Linked DNA regions of Homo sapiens: regions 1, 2, 3, 4, 6 and 7 are each linked to region 5. The links are contacts of gene promoters, found by promoter capture Hi-C in blood cells and fetal thymus (Javierre and others, 2016). All regions are on one chromosome and are shown on one strand. Each heading gives the region's core, a stretch centred on a gene start or on the middle of the fragment in contact. The rest is flanking DNA. Distances are from core to core; before and after follow the strand shown. Region 1 holds the start of LOC124901722 (a long non-coding RNA gene). Region 2 overlaps PRKAR2B (protein kinase cAMP-dependent type II regulatory subunit beta). Region 3 overlaps CCDC71L (coiled-coil domain containing 71 like). Region 4 overlaps LINC02577 (long intergenic non-protein coding RNA 2577). Region 5 holds the start of COG5 (component of oligomeric golgi complex 5). Region 6 holds the start of CTB-30L5.1 (a long non-coding RNA gene). Region 7 has its middle 5.5 kb from the start of PIK3CG.

Region 1 (2,700 bases), core at 86-2,585, 960 kb after region 5:
ATAGAGCATGACGGAGCGCAAGGCGGGAAGCCGCGACAGACGTGTGTGCGTGCGTGCGTGCGTGCGTGATGCGCGAGGCGTGGCTTGCTGGTGGGGCGTGCTGTGCCTTGGTTGGTTGCCGGGTGTGAGAGCGGTGGGACTTCGTTTTGCCTTCCTGGGCGGGACCTCGGAGCAGTGTCCTGGTTTGCTTGTTTGCGGGCCGCTATTCCCTTTCAGCAGAGATAAGCCTCCCTCTCCGCGTCCCTGAAGCCCCTGCCTGCGCTGAGTTCCTTGGAGCTGGGGGCTGCGATACCAGTCTCTTGGAGGGTGGTGCCCGGCGCGGCCGCGCCCCTTTCTCTATATCCATTCCTGGGCATGGCCACCCAGACTAAATGTCACTCAAAAGCGAGTTGACATATATTACTGTATTGGAAGTTAGCATAAACCGCCCCACAAATGGTCCCACACGTAACACATCTTTTTAAAATTGTGGCATTTCATACGTACCACAGGGGCAAACTACAGCCCTCAGGGCAAATCCAGCCCACCGCAGGTTCTGCTGTACTAGGAGCTAAAAATGGGTTTCACATTTTTCAAAGGTTAAAAAAAAAGTTTTGCGACAGATGACAATTATATGACATTCATATTTGTGTCTGCTTTTTAAAGTTTCATTAGAACATAGCTTTGCATTCCTATACATGCTGTTAATTAAAGCTTTTATACTACAATAGCGAATTTGGGTAGTTGCAATAGCCCCTTACCCTCTTGAAGTGACCTTGCAATTACGTTGAGGTCGGGAAAACAGATCAGTTTCAACTAGTTATCAACCTCAAAATGTTATCAAGACTTATACTGTACTCTCAAGGCTTACCCACTACCCATGGGTATGTATGCTTTAGCCCCCTGTAAGGTTATTGTAAAGTCCTTAAGGAAGGGGATTCTTTGACCTGTCAAATGTAGTGGATGTTACCCTGATAGTTGTGTTGTTTTGATTTTTTTAAATCAAGGAGGGAAAGCCAGCTTGCTATGTTCTTGGGACACAGTGTCTGGATTATGTACATCATAATGCCTGGTAAACCCCAGCAGTGGATAAGCCAGACATGTTATTTAGCTACAGGAGAGTTAAAAGATGTATGCACCAATTAAGCCTTACAGGCGTGTGGAAGGAGCTTTAGTTTTTGAGACAGATTCCTCCTTGTTGCTAAAGAAAAATTATTCTGACACTTGTTAAAATGTCAAGGAAGACATTTAGAACTATTGCAATAGGTGCCATGACTATCACCATGGGGGAGAGAGATTGGCCTCAAGTTTTAATACAACAAAAACAGCTAGGATTTATAACCAGCAAGCAGACTGAGGGGTCAGTTCATGGAAAATTACTAAGAAGTGATATCAAGGGTCGGGGATATTCTTGTTAAAGTGACTTACAAGATTCTTGCTGAAGACAGGCGGAGATGATCAATTATCAAGGCTAGGAGATACTCTCTAAACTGACTTTGCAAGATTCTTGCTAAAACTGGACTCAGCAGGCCTAAGACAGGGGCCCAAGGATGAGGCCTAGTTGGGAAGAGGGCTCAGAGGAGCCTAACTAAAGTATGGTCAAGGAGAGAGCACCACCATTCCCTCTCCGCTTATGCTCTTTCATCCCCTAATTTAGTCAGATGTTATTAAATATCCAGATTTTCCTCCCATGTCAGAAATTTTCAAATAACGCCCAATTCCTGCTTCTCCATTCTTATCCTTCCTCTCCCTCCCTTGTCTACCACCATACCTTTAATCAGTCATGAAGTCTGATGAGTTTTACCGCAGAATTTCTTGAATCGTTCCTCTGCTCCACATTCGCATTTCCACTGCTCTAGTTCAGGCTTTCATCCTTGCTCTTCAGTTTCATCTAAACTGGTTTTCCAGCCTGTAACTAACCTCTGACCCAGTCAGTCTCTTCTGTGCAACCACGGTAATCTTTTGAAAGTGCAAGTCCAATCGTGTTTTCCCGAATTAAAAAGCTTTTGCTGGCTGTACATCTTCACAGAATATACCGAATGAAATTATAGGTTCTGACCCTGCTGACCTTCCAGCCTTTACTTTCACCACTTGCCTCTCACTCTCTATCCTCCAGCCACACCTGTACTTCCCCAGATACTCTTGTTCCTTTTCATACTTAGTGCCTTGGTCATGCTGTTGGCTTAGCTCCCCTTCCACCTTGTCCTCCTAAAGATTTGTTTGTCCTTCAGCCAGGAAAATCTTACCTCACTACTCATAGAATGAATCATTCCTTCCACCTGTGCTCACTTCTCTTATTGCCCTTGCTGCACAGTATTATAATTTATTTGTTTATATGCCTGCCAGTTTCCTGCAGTCAAGGAGCGTAAGGTAAACTGTATTGTCTGGATCTAGCGTAACATCCAACAAATAGTAGACTCTCTAAAATTCTGTATTATTGAATTGATTTTTAGTTTCATTTAGATTACTAGTTTGATAAGTTAAAAATGGAAAATAAAACCCATTTATGATTCTTTTGATGTTGGGCAGTTTTGAGACAAAAGAGAATTATATTTAATTTCAAACAAATTCAGTAGTATGCAAAATTGGAGATTATCTTGTGTATAATAGCAGACTAATGCCTTCAGGAAATCATCTATACTTGAAATAATGCTAAATACAGTAATTGTTCAACGCTATATTCTTTGGAAGCTGGGTAAAAGAGACATCACATTGCCCTGT
Region 2 (2,700 bases), core at 103-2,602, 520 kb before region 5:
GCAGGATGAGCATCGAGATCCCGGCGGGACTGACGGAGCTGCTGCAGGGCTTCACGGTGGAGGTGCTGAGGCACCAGCCCGCGGACCTGCTGGAGTTCGCGCTGCAGCACTTCACCCGCCTGCAGCAGGAGAACGAGCGCAAAGGCACCGCGCGCTTCGGCCATGAGGGCAGGACCTGGGGGGACCTGGGCGCCGCTGCCGGGGGCGGCACCCCCAGCAAGGGGGTCAACTTCGCCGAGGAGCCCATGCAGTCCGACTCCGAGGACGGGGAGGAGGAGGAGGCGGCGCCCGCGGACGCAGGGGCGTTCAATGGTGAGGACCAGACCCCCCACTTCGCGCCCCCGGATCCCCTCGCTGCCCCCCACCGCTCCCCGCTGTGCTCTCGGATCTTGCCGCTTTGCGCACCCACCTCTCCCCGCATTCTCCACCTTTCCCTACCTTCCCATCTCGCCCACCCCCTCAGCATCCATTTCTGTCTCTCCCACTCGCCCACCTTCCTACTCCGCTCTCTGTCATACCCTCTTCCCTTCCTCTAGAGGTGGGAGAGCTGGGATGTTACGCTTCCCTCTTACCCTTTGCCCCCTCTGCCTGGGCCGGTTGGGGTGGGCATCTGCTAGAAAGACAACTTTCGCTGTGGTTGGAGGTATTTCGCTTAGAGGATACCATTGTGCATAAAGAAACTGGCCCGCTTGGCGTCTTCTTTCAGCCCTTGTATTTATTAATGGAATGTCGAAAGAGAAAAGGAGAACCGTGTTTAATATGATTGGCTTTACTGTTGTTAGGACGGTAGATTCGCTAAAAGAAGCATGAAATTGGACTCACTGGGGCAGAACAAAATTTATGGCCAGTAGCTCTGACATTCTTGGAAATAAGAGTTATCTATTATTTTCCAATTTACCAATACCGTGTTGTGTTATTTTTGGACACGTAACAAAGGATTCTATTTAGTCTGAAACCCACGGGGGTCTTTGGAACGAGGAAATGGGTTAATGGTTTGCTTTTTATATAAAAGACATATTGAATGATTTGGTGCTTTATTTTTTTAAAAGTGTATGAGAAAAACACTGTAGGAAGTTCTGAAAGCTTGTTGGTTGTCTTTAGAATGAAAAGCCAGTGAGTAATTGTAAGGATTGTGCCAGACAGTAGAGCTAGAAAGAATGAATGGGAAAGAAAAAGGAATTTTCTCAAATAGCTGCTCCTGGCAAGTCCCACCCCTTCTGCTTACAACCCTCTTTCCCTAACACACCCAGACACACACCCTCATTTACAGCCCCTTGTATTACACAACATGCCCAAATCTCATTTTTATGGCAACCCAAGCTAAAATACCATGGAGTGCAGTGTGCAAGTGTTTTCTCTTTGTGGTGTAAGGCAAACATGCATGCAGCATTGCACCAGCTTTTATTTATTTACACTGCTTGTGGTTTGTGTGTCCGCAGTGTATTTCATAAAATGAAAACATTTAAAAGTGTCATTTCATTTCCTTGTGTATGCTCCTAGGAAGATGTTTCTTTTCTTTGCAGGATTACATGTTGAAATGGATTATAAAATTAGTGTATTTTTAGTTTCTCCAAAAGAATCCCAGAAACCCTGGAAATTAGTGCGCTGTGAAGATAAAAGTGAAGCTTGTTACTTACAATTTTAATTTTGGACTTCTAAATGTTTCCCCAAGAGGATAAACATAGTCTTAATAATTCTTTTTGCACAAGAATCGAATCAAAAGCTTTTCCTACCAGAAACGAGAAAGAGAAAAGAATGCATGTTTTAAATAGGTAAGAAGCAGCAGCCAGTAACGGATGACAGAAAGGGCAGAGATATCTAATACTTCTTTTATGCTCCTGACATGTTCGTGCACACACACAAAGGGGAAAAAAAGGACTCTTTTCCCAGGTTGGAGAAAACTAGGAACTAAGGGGCTTGGTAAAGACCATATATATATATATATTCTGTATGATATGTTGTTAATATAATCAAAATATTTTGTTTGTATAATGCATTTGTTGAAGTACTTTGCATTGATGATTGCATTTTCTCCTTATAACAATATATTGCGCACAGAAAAGATTCCATTTTCATTTTGTAGTGAAGAAATAAGCCGTTAACTTCTGAACAGCAGGGGTCATTTTATATGGCTTTATATTCTCCAAGGCACCTTTGCTGTAAAAATTGCTCAGTGTGACTTAAACAAGTTAAACTTGTTAAACAATTGCACTATTTACTCCCTAGCCTCACCCCCAAGGACTTTAAAACTTTTTGACTGCAACCAAATACAATTTGATCATTATCCAGGAGGCACATACATCTGTATAACAGAAACTTTGGCAATAGTACAGGTACTTCCTTCTGTCAGATGCAGTGCTTTTTGATATTTCCTATTTGAATCAGTTATTTCTCCCTATTTTAAATTGTATTGAGACCTCCAGTTGAAAAACATTTAATTATAGGCTACAAAGTGATTGGCAAGGTTTCTTGTAAAGGGCCGGTTAGTAAGTGTTTTAGACTTAGGGCAACATGTGGTCTTGATCACTTCTTCTTCAGTTTTTTTTTTTAAACACATACACCTTCTGAGGGTTGCGGTTGTACAAAATTAGCTGCAGATCAAGGCCATAGCTTGCCGACCCCTGGTTAGAAGAAAAAAAAAAAAGTCAAAATAGTACCATTGGGGGAAAAAACAGGAGTGATCCTAAAAAGTATGAGCCT
Region 3 (2,700 bases), core at 19-2,518, 900 kb before region 5:
AATCAGATAGCCCATGTAATCCAAAGAAGCATTTATGTGAGTTCAAGTATGCTAAAGTAACAAGGCATAGGAGAGAAAAATGTCAAGAATCTCAGTTAAAATAAATGAATGGTGTCAGTGGTTATGTTTCAGTGGTGTGCTGAGCAGTTATCCTCCCAGTTAAGCCAAATTTCAAAATCCTCTGGAAAACTATCTAGATAAGCTGTATGTCGAAATTGCATTCTAATATGGCCATTGGGTTTATTTTTCATTATTATAAAACTATATACAATAGTAAAGTTGTACAAATACATTTTTTCCAGGTGCTAGTTAGCTATAAAAGTTAACAATATATTTTTGGGAAGAAAACCCTATGCATCTGAAATACAATTGGCAATGGAAGCTAATAACCAAAAGATATGTCTAAGCTTCCTATCACAAATATAATTTAACACTCTCCATCTTCTAAGGAATTATTCATTTTTATTTACTCATGTGACAGTGTTTGTACAATGCATTATCATTGAGTAGTGAATAAAAGACTGAGGCTTACTAGAAAACTGGCATCAAGTTATATATATGTGTGTATATATATATCATATTATTTCTTTTAACAAGAACACTGAAATTGAAGTCACAACACTCCTATACGGACTACTAAACTTGAAATACTCATTTCAGAAAGCTATGCCATTTGAATTCTAGGAACGCAAGAGTCAAAATTGTAACTCTCATTATTCTCCTAAAAAGCTGCCAAGCAGAGATAAGCTTTAGTATTAAAGATTTCACATGTCAAGTTCCAGCCCAGTATGGATCGTTTCATGGCAGAATACTTAAATTTGAAATAATAGTGGTACAAAAACACTACTTGACCCTTTAGGTATTGCAGTAAAAGCTGGCTGTGGCACTGCTGGCTAAAAACTATTAAGTTTTCCTGCCACAAATGACCAAAGGCACTTGGATAATCAAGAATTCCACACTGGGCCATATGGTATAAACACTATAAAAGCGTAAAGAAGGGTCAGTATTCTGTGTGTCTCGCCTGTTTGATTCCTGTGGTCTTCAGCTGTCAAAGACCTAGAACTGCAAACATATAATGAGTGGCAAAAAGGTTAAAAAAAATGTTGGGACAAAAAAATCAACTAAAAATCAACTAATTTTCATTATGTTTGTAAAACTGATGAATATTAGTCTAGACATTTCTTGTTATCCAACAACAAAAACAAAAAGGAAATAGATTTCGCCCAAAGTAACCTTAACCAGTTATTTGATACCAAGAAATGCCTCCACCCCTCTTGATCATTAATAGTTCTAAGAATTCTAATGGGTATTCTGTTTATCATTTTAGTGATAATGTTTACACACATCCATCTCTCCTATGCAACTCCCATTTTAAAATACATTATCCTTGTAAAATACATTACAAGGATAATGTATTTTAAAATACTTTAACGCATAATATTCCTAGATTTGTATGTTAGACCAGGACAGGGGGCCAAATCATCTCCAGTCGGATTCCAGTGACTCCTGTAACCAAAACCAGTTCTTCACAATTTATTCATTTTTTTTAATCACACACCATATGGTTTCAATGCATTTTTTTATTCAATTCAAAAGAATTTAACAAGTTAACTTTTCCTAAACAAAAGTTTTCATGTGTATTCTACCATTTTTAGGAGCTCAGTAAATATAAACATTGTTTCAATACAAAACCTTTAAAAATACCTTGAAAATGTTTAAACAGTTGTATTTTGCATGTCTTTGTTTGTAATCACTGAGCCCATACAAATCCTTGCACTACTAACAGTCACAAGCTTGAACCTCTTAAAAAATATCCTCGATCAAAGCTTTGGAATCCAGTAAAAATTAGGAAACGAGTGGGCTTCAGAATACCCTGAGCACAAACTAGTGCAACACCACATGTTCGAACTTCTGTCCACAAAGAGGGGTGACAGTGAAATAGAAAAAGGGGGAGATAAAGAACAAGTAAATTCTGGCTTTATTACACAAGCACGAAACCAAATTCCTTTGGAAAAATAATGTCTTCGGAGGACTTCCAGACCAGTGAGGTAGAGTCCAACAGTGAGAAAACGGATCTGCCCCTAAGGTCCTGGAGACGTCTCAATCGGTGGTCAGGAAGAAAGGGACCTCCCCTGCGGGTCCAGCTGTCCCCTCCCTCCGCAGGCCGGGTACGGGAGGCAGCAGAGGGCACACCTGCCCCAGCGTCCAAGACGACCGCGCCGCGGCCCGGGACAGGGACAACCATCCGGCAACTTCTTCGCGCGTAAAGTGCATTGGGGGCCGGGGTCCTGGCCGGATCTGTAAACACTCGACTGACACTTGTTCATTCCTCCGGGCGGAAGGCCTGTCCCAAGGTCGGGGCCGGCAGGAGGCGCCCTGGAGGCCGCACCTCATGCCCGGGGCACCGGGAAGCGGCGGAGCCTCACCATGGGTTCCAGGTTCACTCGCAGGACCTGGCGCGCCCTGCGCCGCGCTGCCGCCAGGCTGCGCTCGCCCCACACGTCGCTGCCGACGCGGATGGTGGGGAAGGTGGTCAGCGTCGGGGTGGCCGCCCTCCAGATCTCCTCCAAGGTGCGGCCCCCGAAGCAGGGCCCGGGGGCCACGGGCTTGGCCGGGCAGCTCTCCTCGGGGGGCGGCGGCGGTGGGGGTGGCGGCCGGGGCTTCCTCCTGCGGGCAGCGGCCGCCCGGGCTCCGCGGCGC
Region 4 (2,700 bases), core at 165-2,664, 770 kb before region 5:
AGGAGATAAGTAACTGCCCAAGATCCACAGTTAGTAAGGAGGAGAGCCACTTTTCAAACCTGAAGTTTACCCAGATCCAAAATCCACCTCCCTTCCTCTCACTGAGTCTGCCTGGCCCATCCATCCCAGGCATCAGGCCCCTTCCTCTGTGACCCCGACTGAATTCTTCAGTGCCTCCTTCTCCAAGTTCCAGATGACCCCGAGGATCAATTAGTTCCCATGCAGTGCTAACAAATGCCACAGGCTCAGACCCTGGGTCCTGTCTTCCTCTCTAAATCAACACTTGCAGGAAAAAAGTATGGACCCAACTAGAAAGTACTTTTAATGATTAAGTTATTAAATAAACCCCAAAAAAGTACAGTGAAAGGGATTGGTAAGGGGGATAATTAGAATATAGCCTACTGGTATATCTGGTAAAGTTTTTATGATAATAAATTAAAATATCATAAAGTTTTTATAATAAATAGGATATTGATTAGTCTTTTCTAAACCTCAGCATACTTTTTTTTTGGTTTTGAAACAGAGTCTCTGTCACCCAGGCTGGAATGTAATAGCACGATCTTGGCTCACTGCAACCTCCACCTCCTGGGCTCAAGTGATCCTCCTGCCTCAGCCTCGGCATACTTTCTAACCTTGTTTATGTCACCACAAGAAACCCAAGGCTCCTGGGTCAGCCCTTATCCCCCACACGGCTCTATAAGCAGTAAGCAACCACCTCCCCAAACACACACACGCAATCCTTATCTTCCTTCCTGCCCTTTTGTAAAACTTAGCATTTATGATCATTTGACAAATCATATACTTTATTTACTTGTTTGTCCATCCTTTCCTGGAATAAAAGGACTATTAGAGCTGGAATTTGTTTGGACAGAAAAAAAAAGTGTTTAAATAAAAGCAGAGAGAGAGAGACATGGTTTATAACAAAGTCTCATTAGGATGATGAAACACTTAAATAAATTTTTACTGGGGTCGTGATCCCTGGAAAAACTTTCAAAATAAGAACTCTGACATTCACACTGAATGACTCTTCCTTCCATCACCGAGACACTCTGATCCAGATCAGATGGCCTCACAGTTCCGGCCAACTGGGTGAATCCAGGGTTAAAAATGGCCACCTACTTTTCATGGGGCCCACTCGACAGCTCAGTTGTTTGGAGGTATAGTGCTTGCAGAACCAAGGTCACAGGTAATGAGCGGGATTATTGTTCATCATTAAGCATTAAGTGTTATCTATGAAATGATGTTGTTTAATGGTGCTATAGGCTTTTAGCAATAGAGTCATCAAGAAATATAAAATCCAGACTTTAGGTTTAGTGGGAGAAGAGGGAAAGGAAAGCTTAAAATTAGGATAGTTGTAAGAAAGATGCTTATTAAAGAAAGATGAATGGAGTTTCTCTGCTTCTAGTCCTAAAAGACACTAGTGTTACAGGTACCTGTTATTTTTCCACCTGCCCAGCAGGTGTCAGTGTAAGACAATGTTCCTAGAACTGACCAAGCTTTTTTAAAAATTGAGAGTTATCAAATTATAAAATACAGAAGATACAATAAAGATGGGTTTGCAAAAATTTTCACATGAGCCTTTAAATGAGGGAAGGAGATGACCAAAAATAAGTTTCCAGAAAGGTAAGATGATCAGAGTTGGACTGGGGGGCCTCAGAAGGCCCCATCTGGCTCTCAGATTTCTTGTCAATTCAGCGGGAATTCCTGGAGCATCTCGGGGCTGCAGGAGGACTCAGCACTGTTGGAAGAGTTCGTTGCTGGTAACTAGCACAGTAACAAATGAACACTCCCAGGGAAAATGGTAGTATTCCACCAGGCATACTCTCTTAAAAAACAGACACCGTCTCTGCTTCTCAGAGGCTTACAATAAGAACATAGAAATCCTGTAATTCATGAAAATATATTATTATAAGAACTAAAAAAGTGAATCAAGGAAAAAGAGATGGTCATCAATGGTTGCATGAATAATTTGCAGAATGCACTGAGTTAGTCAGGGTGAGCTTCCCGGAGGAGCTGGCCATTGAGCTGTGACGAAAGAGAACAGAGCCACAAATCCAGGGTTCCACCCTAGCTCCTGCCTTTCTGTTCTGCATTCAGTTTTTCTCCTCCAAATACAAATGTCCTATACACTGATGAAGGGCAAGCAATACAGAAAAAGAAAATAAACACAACTTATTTTTTTAATTCACTATATAAAGGTTCCGTGGGTATTTTAAAGGGAAAATGGTGGGGGGCGGGGGCTCTTATCTATTGCGCATGTAACAAGACATACATTATGTCATACAAGTCTAACCAAAATCCTGAGATGTAAGTAGTATTGTTCTCATTTTTGCATAAAGGATCCAAGGCTCCCAGAAGCCATAAACTTGCCCAAGATTATGATATCTAATATTTATGAGGGATTACTCCGCATACACAATAATCCTATGAAGTTACTATTATTCCCATTTATTGGATGAAGACATTAAGCCTTACAAAAAATAAGTGATTGTCTCCCCAAAGCCACAGGCCTCAGGAGCCATTAAGATGAAATTCAAACTCATGTTTAGCAAGGTGGGTTCTCTGGGAACTCAGGTTGTAGGTGTTTGCTAGGAAGTGCCCTTAGGATTAGTACCTATGGAGAGAAGGGGAGGGTGGAAGGATTGGCCAGCACTGGGCCAAAGAGCCAGGCTTTTCTACACCTGTCTCCATCAGTCACTG
Region 5 (2,700 bases), core at 8-2,507:
GACCCGGTCCTAGAGTTTCCAACATGAAATAGTTCAGAAAACATCATTGCTTTTGACAAAAGTACATAAATTATCATGAAAAGGCACGTAATTCAGGATGACAATAAAATATTTAACAGTCAGAGAAAATAAACAATAATTTGGAACTTTATTTCATTTATTACCCACTTCGGTCTTCAAATGTGTGCATGTGCTTCTAACTGCGATGATGAATTTAAAAAACATTCTGCACCTACTGTATGCAAGATACTGCTATTCACACTGTGGGATATTAAAAAAAGTTTGCAATACAGAAGAGATTAAAACAAGTATACAAATGATTTTAGTACAAGGTAGAATGCGATGGCCACTAGAGAAAAAATTAAGAACAGGTGAGAAGGGCTTTATTTTTATGCTTATAAATGTGAACTTTATTCTGAAGGATAAGAGATTCGGGACATGGTAACTGGATTGACACAACTGAATATGCTTTTCAAGTATATTATATCTAACTTTTCTTATTTTGGGCAACTTCTCTCCAAACTGACTAGCAATAAAATCTGACTGCTAGATTCTGTACAAATGGTTAATCCCAACCTGAACAAATGTCTCAAACCCTCCCCCACGTGTCACTGTAGATAACTGCCTCATAAAGGAGGAAAAAAAAAACCAGCCTGTAAGAGGGGTCACCTGTACAGTCCATTTGTTAAAGGAGTAAGCGTTTCCAGCTCTACTTTAAAACAAGGCCCTATTTCATTATGCGTCTGCCGTCTGTTCTAGAGCTTACACTTTTGAAGAGCTCGAACGCTACACCCCTTCGTCAAGAACTGCGGCAGCAGCCGGTGGCTGCCAACGCGGTCCACAGGGTTTGGGCTCCCGAAACTTCAGGGAAGCTGGAGGCATGGGGGGGGGGGGGGTCGAGTTGAAATGAGGAACACACAGAAACCAAGTGTCCCCAAGACTCCAGAAAAGAGGGAGCCAGTCCCAGAGTAAATAGGTTGGCTAGAACAGTACCCAAGCCAGGGGGCCGGGCGGAGGGGAGTGGTCACGTCCAGACTGGAAAACTTTCTGCAAAGCAACGGGTTGGGTCCACCTCGCTGTCCAGGTGCGGAGCAGCGCAGACCCCCAACCCCACGACCTGGTCAGACCCCGTCTCCTTACCGTCCTGCAGAAGTTCCCGGACTGTAGCTGCAGCCGCTCCAGAGCCTCGAGCTCCGAGGCCAGCTACAGCGACGCTGCCGCCGCCACCTTCCATGTTGGCAGGTGCCGGGTTGATGTCGTCAGCAGCAGAACGGCTCCGCCCAGGTGGTGACGCAGAATCCCGGCGCCGCCCGCCCACCCAGCCCATGGCTCCAGGCCCACCTGGCGAACTGACTCTCAGCCCGCGCCTGGGCTAAGCCTGGCTAGGAGCCGCGCAGGTACTCGAGCAGTGGGCGCCCAGGGTCCGAGTGCTCTGCGCCCAGCGCACCGAGGGAGCCAAGGCCGTCGGGCCGGCGCTTTCAGCTGTCTCTCGCAGCAGCTCAGGGCCGCGCCCCCTGGGCTGGCGTCGTGCCCTAGCCAAGGAGAAGGTGGGCACCGGAACGTGGCCGCAGCGCTTATCTGTGAAGCAAGTATTAAACCTCAGAACAGGGGCCGCGCGGCGTAAGGCAGGAGAGCAGAGCGGAGGTTTCAGGGAGCTTCGTTTGCCCTCCACACTCACAAGAGTCACGCGTTAGTTGCTACACAGCTTTATCTGTTCCACGCCTTGATTGGCACTCCTGGGGTAATAAAAGCCCGCAGGAAATGCTTGGGAAGAAAAGTTGCTGGGGATGAACAGTGAAGAGAATTAGGGAGAGTCGATGAAGAAGGAAGTCTGAACCATAAAAGGACCAATAAAACTCACTGTCTCTACCCTCCTTCCTTCCCATGAGACCTTTGACCTTTTGCCTTTTCTACTTCTTCCTCAGTTTCAGTCACGTGCCAGACTTTTTCTTAATTACAAACTGATAGATGGTCCACATCTCAACTAACAGTATTGACGCTGTAAGAGCATCAGGTTGGTTCCCATTGTATCTTCTTTACTAATACGTTCGCGTTTTTGACCTAGATTTCTTTCTTCTAAGATAAATACTGATAAATTAACAGGGTCAGGCAACCACAAGTATGCAAGACAGTCTTAAGCTTCTTCGCAAAAAGAAGCTGGAAGATGACTTTTTCATTTTGTACAGTAGGTATGTATCCAGGAAACCAATTTTATCCAGTTCCAGAGCTACGTGGTTTTCTACATTCTGTTTCAAAAAGGTGCTATTACTTATCCTGTGCTTATCGCTGTTCTAAGTATTTTATAACTCAATGCATTTCATACTCATAACACCTCAGGTAAGCAAGTCTTATGCTACACTGCATTATGCTCTCTTTGTCTCAGAGGATTTTCCCTAGTATGTAAGATCTTAGTCATGATGGGAATAGGGGTGATTCATTCATTACTTGTGAATTAGGAATTGTTTTTCCTTCCTTGGCTTTATTCCCCCCAGTGGAAGATTTTAGAAGAGTGAGTAATATTCATTCATACAGCGAAAGTTTTGACCCCTCTACTCTGCATGCTCTCATGAGTTTACAAACATAAGACTCAATCCATATTCTAAAAGGAGTTAATAGGTAAGGTAGGAACCCATTTAAACAAACAATTGTACCAGGTGCTTTGGAATCTTTGGATTTACTTATTCCAGTAATTCCAAGCTT
Region 6 (2,700 bases), core at 39-2,538, 960 kb before region 5:
TAATGTCAAAGACAAATAAAAACTTGGGAAAATATTTGCCCCACCCATAGCATGCAAAAGGCTAATTTTCATTATACATTCGAGAGTTATTTCAAAAAAAAATCATGAACAGAGCACACAAACAGAAAATTCACCAGAAAATAAATATAAATGGCATAAAAATATAAAAAGATATTCAACCTTAAAATTTTAGATGGTAATTTAAAATAAAATGAAATATCACTATTCATTTACTGGACAAAAATCTTTGCTAATGCACAGTATTGATGAAAGGAGAGAAAGAGACACTTCCAGACAGTGAATAGACAAATTGGTACATCTTCTTTGGAGGACAATTAAAAATGATACTAGTAATAATAATATAAATAGCTTACTTTTTTTGAGTATCAGCTATGTCAGATAGACGTTCTATGTGTTTCAGATATTCTAACTCATTTACTCCTCATAACAACCAAATGAGGTAGTTTCTATCACTATCACTATGAGAACACTAAGGCACAAAATGATTAAGAAACTTGTTCAAGATCACATGTCTAGTAAATGGAGAAGCTGAGATTCAAACCCAGAAAGTCTGGAAAATTCAACTTAAAACACCACACCACCACACACACACGCACACATGTTAACTACGGGTTGTAATAGATGTGTTAATTAATTTGACTGTAGTAATCGTAGTAATCAGTATCCAGTGTACATATATGTGTATCACATCAACATGTTGTACACCTTGAATATATATATACTTTTTATCTGTCAATTAGATATTTTTAAATTAAATAAACCAAGCTTGACAACACCCATAAAAATTCAAAAATTTTATACCCATTATATTCATTAGGATTAGATTTAGGTACTTGACATAGAAAAGAAAATAACTGTTGCTTAAACGAGGTAAAAGTTAATTTCTCTCCCAAATAAATAAAATCTGGAGGTATATAGCTTAGAACTGGCAGGGCAGCTCTTACCCTATAAAGTCCTCAAGAACCTGGCTCCTTCCAGCTCCCCACTCACCACCAAAAGGGTGTGGCCCTAGGCAGCATGTGAAGTACAAAAACGAATAAAGAATAGAGGACAGAAGGCACTTGTCATCTGTCTCTCAGAGAAGTTTTTCAGAAGCTGTCACGCGACACTTCCCGTTCCACTGCTCTAGCTGCAAAGGAGGCTGGGAAATGTAGTCTTAATTCTGGGCCGCCATTTGCACAGCTTTGCATTGTATTACCATGGAAGAGGAGGAGAAGGGAGATTGAGGGACATGTGGCCAGCTCTTTCCTTCCTGCTGACACCACAATTCAACTTCTAGGAAAATTTCTACTAGATTAATGGCACATTTGTGTAACAACATATTACACTGATTATTCCCCATTTATCCTTCCTCTCCCTGCCTACCCTGTACCTTGCAGACTGACCTCCATGGACTGCATCACCTGGGCTTCCCCAACCTCTGACTTCCACTTCTATTCAGCAGCTGGAAGAACCAGCAGAAAACCAGAGAGCAAAAGGAGATAGCAGTCAGGGTATTTATTCCTCTTGCTCCTACTCTGATGGCTGCAGTTTGGCTACTGGCTCCATTCCTCACCATGTGGCTGTAGCTCCGTTTGGCTGGCCTCTCTCCCACAGCCATGGTCTCACTGGCTTCTAGTAACACTGCTCCCTCCCCTTATCCCTTCATGCCTGGGGTGGTGAAGGCTTGTCACTGTTGGGAGTTCCTGAATGTTTAGCCATTTATTGCTGGTTCTATTCATCCTGCCAGCACCTGTGTAAATAGTACCTCCATGACTAAACTCGTCAGGTAAGCTTGGGATGTGCCATCTGCTTCTGCTGGACCCTGATTCATACACATACGTGCAAGGACTTTCATTACAGCAGTGCTTGAAATAGTAATAGACCAAAACAAATTAAATATTTATCAATAGGGAACTGATTAAATATCATGCAGTTATAGTAGTAATATAATGTAGCAGTTTAATAAATAATGGTGCACTATCATGTACACTTAAAAATTTGCTAAGAAGGTAGACCTCAAGTTATGTGTTCCTACTGCACTAAAATAATAATAATGTCTTTATGAGCTAAAATAGAGAGCTCTTGATGATAGGATGCTACCAACTGTATATTAAAATATAGATATAGATGTACAGTTAGGTTTGGATTTAGATATATTTGCATGGTGTGTTATAAATGTATATGTAATATGCATTTCTATACTTAAAGGTTTTTAAGGAAAAGACTAGAAACTGAGACTGGTGGTCACCTCTGGGAAAGAATAATGGAGAATAGGGTAGGAAAGAGCTTTACTTTCATTGAATATCCTTTTATACTATATGAATTTTTACTACATATATATTACCTTAAAAAACTATTTAGAGAAAAAAATATTAATTTTCCTTAGGATACATATAATAGGGAAGCATACGAATAAGATAGTAGCATTCCTTTGAGATTCCATTACTATAAATCGGATTCCAATTTTCTCTCCCCACCACTGTCTGCCCTCTCGTAAACCCTCCTCCCATACGGGGGCACACCAAGGGCCCTCGCTTCTAATGAAGGGCAGTACCTCATCCCCTGGATCTACTGTGGTCCTTACTGTGCTCTCCCTATGCATTGGTGTCAATTAAGGGAGTACATGTTCTGTTCCAAAGCTGTAGGAAGTGCTAGAAACCAGGAAAATGAATGATCCCTGTCCTCAGAGAGATTATT
Region 7 (2,708 bases), core at 207-2,706, 700 kb before region 5:
ATAAGCCCTGTTTGCATCACTGCACTCTAGCCTGGGAGACACAGTGAGAACCTGTCTCCAAAAAAAAAAAAGAAAAGTATGAAAGTATGGAAAGTAGCTTAAATCTTCAGGTAAAATTAATTTTTGACATTCACATACAGAAAAGTGATCATTGAGTGCACAAGCTTTGTATGTGCCAAGCTTCATGAACTTCCACAAACTGATCATAAGCTAGGCCGGCACCGCATCAAGAAACTACCAGCAACCCAGAAGCTCCTCCCTTTCAGGTTGTACATACTATTTTAAAAGAAAAGGAGGCAAGAGGGGAGGAGGAGAGAATGAAAAAGGCTGGAGGAATGGAGACTGCCAAGGCATCTATTTGAAAAGAAAATGAGAACCGCTATGGCAGCAGAGGGGCACACCCGGGGGAACTCGAGCCCTCACTGAGACACACCCTGCAAGGCATTTCCCAATCTGCAGAAAATTCTCACTTGATTCAACAGACACACATGATGGGTAATTCCAGAAAATGCAGGCCAAGCTTTGAAGGCAAAAATATTCCTCCTAGGTATAGAGCAAGGCAGGTAGAGATCCCTTCCTGTCCCGCCCCAGGTCCCTGCAGGAGCTAGTGCCCGTGGCCCGCAAGGTCCTTGTCTACCCATCAGAGAAGAAAGCAGTACAGAGGCCACTGGAATAAAGTTGATTTTTGCTTGAAAAGAAGAAGAAGGAGGTGCAGGGCCGTGGCCTCACAGTGACCCGGCTCACCCTCCTGGGGACCAGAAAAGCACTTGGCTCCCGGCCAGCCCCAACACCCACTTCCCAGCCCAAGCCTGCTTTGCTCCTGTGACCTTTTTCTGAACCTGGAGAGGTGGGGCACCCTCTTGGCTTCCTTCCAGCTGGATGTGACTCCTGCCAGACTCAAAGCTGAGAACCCAGGGCTTTGGAAGGAACAATGTTCCCTAAGAAGGCCTGAGAAGCAGCTCCTATTATAATCTCCCTTCCAGCCTCAGGGCCAGGGATTTGAGAGCAGACTCCAACTAAGCTGGTCTACTCATTCTTCCTCTCTCCTAGGACCCTCTGCTATGCTCTTGAACAGGGAAAATCCTATGAAGGAAGGAAACAGATTTGGTTCGGAAACTACTCCCTTATTGCAATCAGCTTTGTCTCTGTCAGGATCATGGTGTGTGTGTGAGACGTGGATGAGACAGTTAGGTAGGTGACTAGATAGGTGCATAGGTAGGTAGATAAAATTCCTTAGCAGCAAGCAGGTAATTCTGAAGGCAGGGACTCAGGGATGGGTCTGGATATCCATTCCATGGGAGGATTTCTGGCTCACAGGACACGGTACCAACGGTCTTTGGTCTTATACTTCAGTCAATATTAGGAATGGAACAACAAAGAAAACTACTAAATTGGACCAAATAAGAGCTATAAAGGAGATGTTTCTAAAGGATTGTGGTTTCTTATAATGTCAAACTAGGTTCCCTCCTAAGTTCCACACCCTACAGACCATTTTCCTCCCAAGTTTCACATTGCAAGGTTTGAAGAGGAGGCAGATTGGAGAGTTTTACGTTACATGGTTACATGGAAGGGAGGGGCTGTCTGGGTTTTGGTTAGTCTGGGAGGCTTTGCGAATATCACTCAGTACTCCCATTGCTTCCTGTAAATACAAAGGAATCCAATGGCTTCCAAAAAGAGAGACTCTATACAAACTAACCATTCCACCAACATTTATCAAGGCCTTGGCTTTGTATGTGGCAAGCACTGTATTAAGCTCTGGGGAATACAGCGAGTCAATACAGAGCAGTCACTCAAAGAACCCAGTCGGGTAGAGGAGGCAGCCCAGTCACCAGCTGTCCTCACCCAGGAGAAGTGCTATGATGACTGCCACTTACCACCTGTGGCACCAAGGGCAAGCCACTCAACTTCTCTGTGCCTTGCTTTTAGCACCTGTAAGTGGAGACAATAGTAGTGCCTCTCCCCTTGGAAGGATGTGAGGATTAAATGAATGAATGTACTAAAGTTCTTAGATCAACGTAAGACTCAAAGAAAGTGCCATAAAAGAGTTTGTGAGCCAGGCACAGTGGTTCACGCCTGTAATCTCAACACTTTGGGAGGCCAAGGCAGGCAGATCACTTGAACCCAGGCGTTCCAGACCAGCCAGGGCAACATGGCAATATCTCATCTCTAGTAAATATACAAAAAATTAGCCGGGTATGGAGGCTCACACCTGTAGTTCCAGCTACTTGAGAGGCTGAGATGGGAGGATCACTTGAGCCCGGGAGGTCAAGCCTGCAGTGAGCTGAGATTGCACTACTGTACTCCAGCCTGAGCAACAGAGTGAGACCCTTCCCTAAAGAAGAGCTTCCACTTATTGGTGGTGATATTGTTATTGTGGTGGTTACTATTGGGAGAAAGCTTCCCTAACCCTATGCTTTCCTGACCAGAAAGCCCTCTCAGTGGAGGTTACTCACTCTGAATACCAATGAAGCAGGAGCTGGTCAAATGGCTGAGGGGATGAGAGAAGGGGGAGGGAGAGGAGAGAGAATGAGGGGAGGGAATAGGACATAGGGAGTGGCACACAGAGGCACAGAGGTGTGGTGGAACACAGAAGGTATGAAAGCAGAAATTGGTGGAATTCAATCATGGAAGGGAATTGGAAGAGGAGAATCTGGAAGAAAGAGTTAAGGATAGTTCATAAGGGATAAATCATAAAAGGTCTAAAGTAT

Evidence for each region. Contacts are between HindIII fragments. The CHiCAGO score rates a contact against its expected background, and 5 or more counts as called.
Region 1: a fragment that was not itself captured here is called in contact with the fragment with the promoter of COG5 in region 5 in 1 of 17 cell types (fetal thymus); the score reaches 5.3 in fetal thymus.
Region 2: a fragment that was not itself captured here is called in contact with the fragment with the promoter of COG5 in region 5 in 1 of 17 cell types (fetal thymus); the score reaches 6.8 in fetal thymus.
Region 3: a contact is called between a fragment that was not itself captured here and the fragment with the promoter of COG5 in region 5, in 1 of 17 cell types (fetal thymus). The highest score is 7.6, in fetal thymus.
Region 4: a fragment that was not itself captured here is called in contact with the fragment with the promoter of COG5 in region 5 in 4 of 17 cell types (fetal thymus, naive CD4 T cells, total CD8 T cells and 1 more); the score reaches 8.0 in fetal thymus.
Region 6: a fragment that was not itself captured here is called in contact with the fragment with the promoter of COG5 in region 5 in 1 of 17 cell types (fetal thymus); the score reaches 9.8 in fetal thymus.
Region 7: a fragment that was not itself captured here is called in contact with the fragment with the promoter of COG5 in region 5 in 1 of 17 cell types (non-activated CD4 T cells); the score reaches 5.1 in non-activated CD4 T cells.

The regions. Positions count from the first base shown.
Region 1 is chr7:108,526,307-108,529,006 of GRCh38, forward strand. LOC124901722 (a long non-coding RNA gene) reads left to right here and starts at 169. Exons shown (of 2, transcript XR_007060473.1): 1 at 169-1,339. It also overlaps a transcript of PNPLA8 not described here. RefSeq lists an enhancer at 108-447. The HindIII fragment of the contact is 1,289 bases long and covers 692-1,980 here.
Region 2 is chr7:107,044,903-107,047,602 of GRCh38, forward strand. PRKAR2B (protein kinase cAMP-dependent type II regulatory subunit beta) reads left to right here. Exons shown (of 11, transcript NM_002736.3): 1 at 1-312. The coding sequence starts at 6. Among named protein-coding and RNA genes, the nearest start is that of PRKAR2B, 1.5 kb to the left of the region's middle. RefSeq lists silencers at 1-115, 1-196. The HindIII fragment of the contact is 542 bases long and covers 1,082-1,623 here.
Region 3 is chr7:106,657,799-106,660,498 of GRCh38, forward strand. CCDC71L (coiled-coil domain containing 71 like) reads right to left here. Exons shown (of 1, transcript NM_175884.6): 1 at 1-2,700. The coding sequence ends at 2,391. Among named protein-coding and RNA genes, the nearest start is that of CCDC71L, 2.0 kb to the right of the region's middle. RefSeq lists an enhancer at 2,134-2,183 and a silencer at 2,534-2,700. The HindIII fragment of the contact is 1,046 bases long and covers 746-1,791 here.
Region 4 is chr7:106,791,757-106,794,456 of GRCh38, forward strand. All of the region lies in intron 1 of LINC02577 (long intergenic non-protein coding RNA 2577), which reads left to right. Among named protein-coding and RNA genes, the nearest start is that of LINC02577, 18 kb to the left of the region's middle. The HindIII fragment of the contact is 160 bases long and covers 1,335-1,494 here.
Region 5 is chr7:107,562,663-107,565,362 of GRCh38, forward strand. COG5 (component of oligomeric golgi complex 5) reads right to left here and starts at 1,258. Exons shown (of 22, transcript NM_006348.5): 1 at 1,141-1,258. The coding sequence starts at 1,234. DUS4L-BCAP29 (DUS4L-BCAP29 readthrough) reads left to right here and starts at 1,309. Exons shown (of 13, transcript NR_163941.2): 1 at 1,309-1,547; 2 at 1,926-2,014. DUS4L (dihydrouridine synthase 4 like) reads left to right here and starts at 1,309. Exons shown (of 8, transcript NM_181581.3): 1 at 1,309-1,547; 2 at 1,926-2,014. RefSeq lists silencers at 1,137-1,347, 1,386-1,485 and enhancers at 1,186-1,305, 1,836-2,700. The HindIII fragment of the contact is 2,647 bases long and covers 1-2,137 here.
Region 6 is chr7:106,597,789-106,600,488 of GRCh38, forward strand. It overlaps CTB-30L5.1 (a long non-coding RNA gene), which reads right to left and starts at 1,059. Exons shown (of 4, transcript NR_187788.1): 1 at 966-1,059. RefSeq lists an enhancer at 1,168-1,217. The HindIII fragment of the contact is 1,008 bases long and covers 785-1,792 here.
Region 7 is chr7:106,858,395-106,861,102 of GRCh38, forward strand. No RefSeq gene overlaps it. Among named protein-coding and RNA genes, the nearest start is that of PIK3CG, 5.5 kb to the right of the region's middle. The HindIII fragment of the contact is 1,877 bases long and covers 519-2,395 here.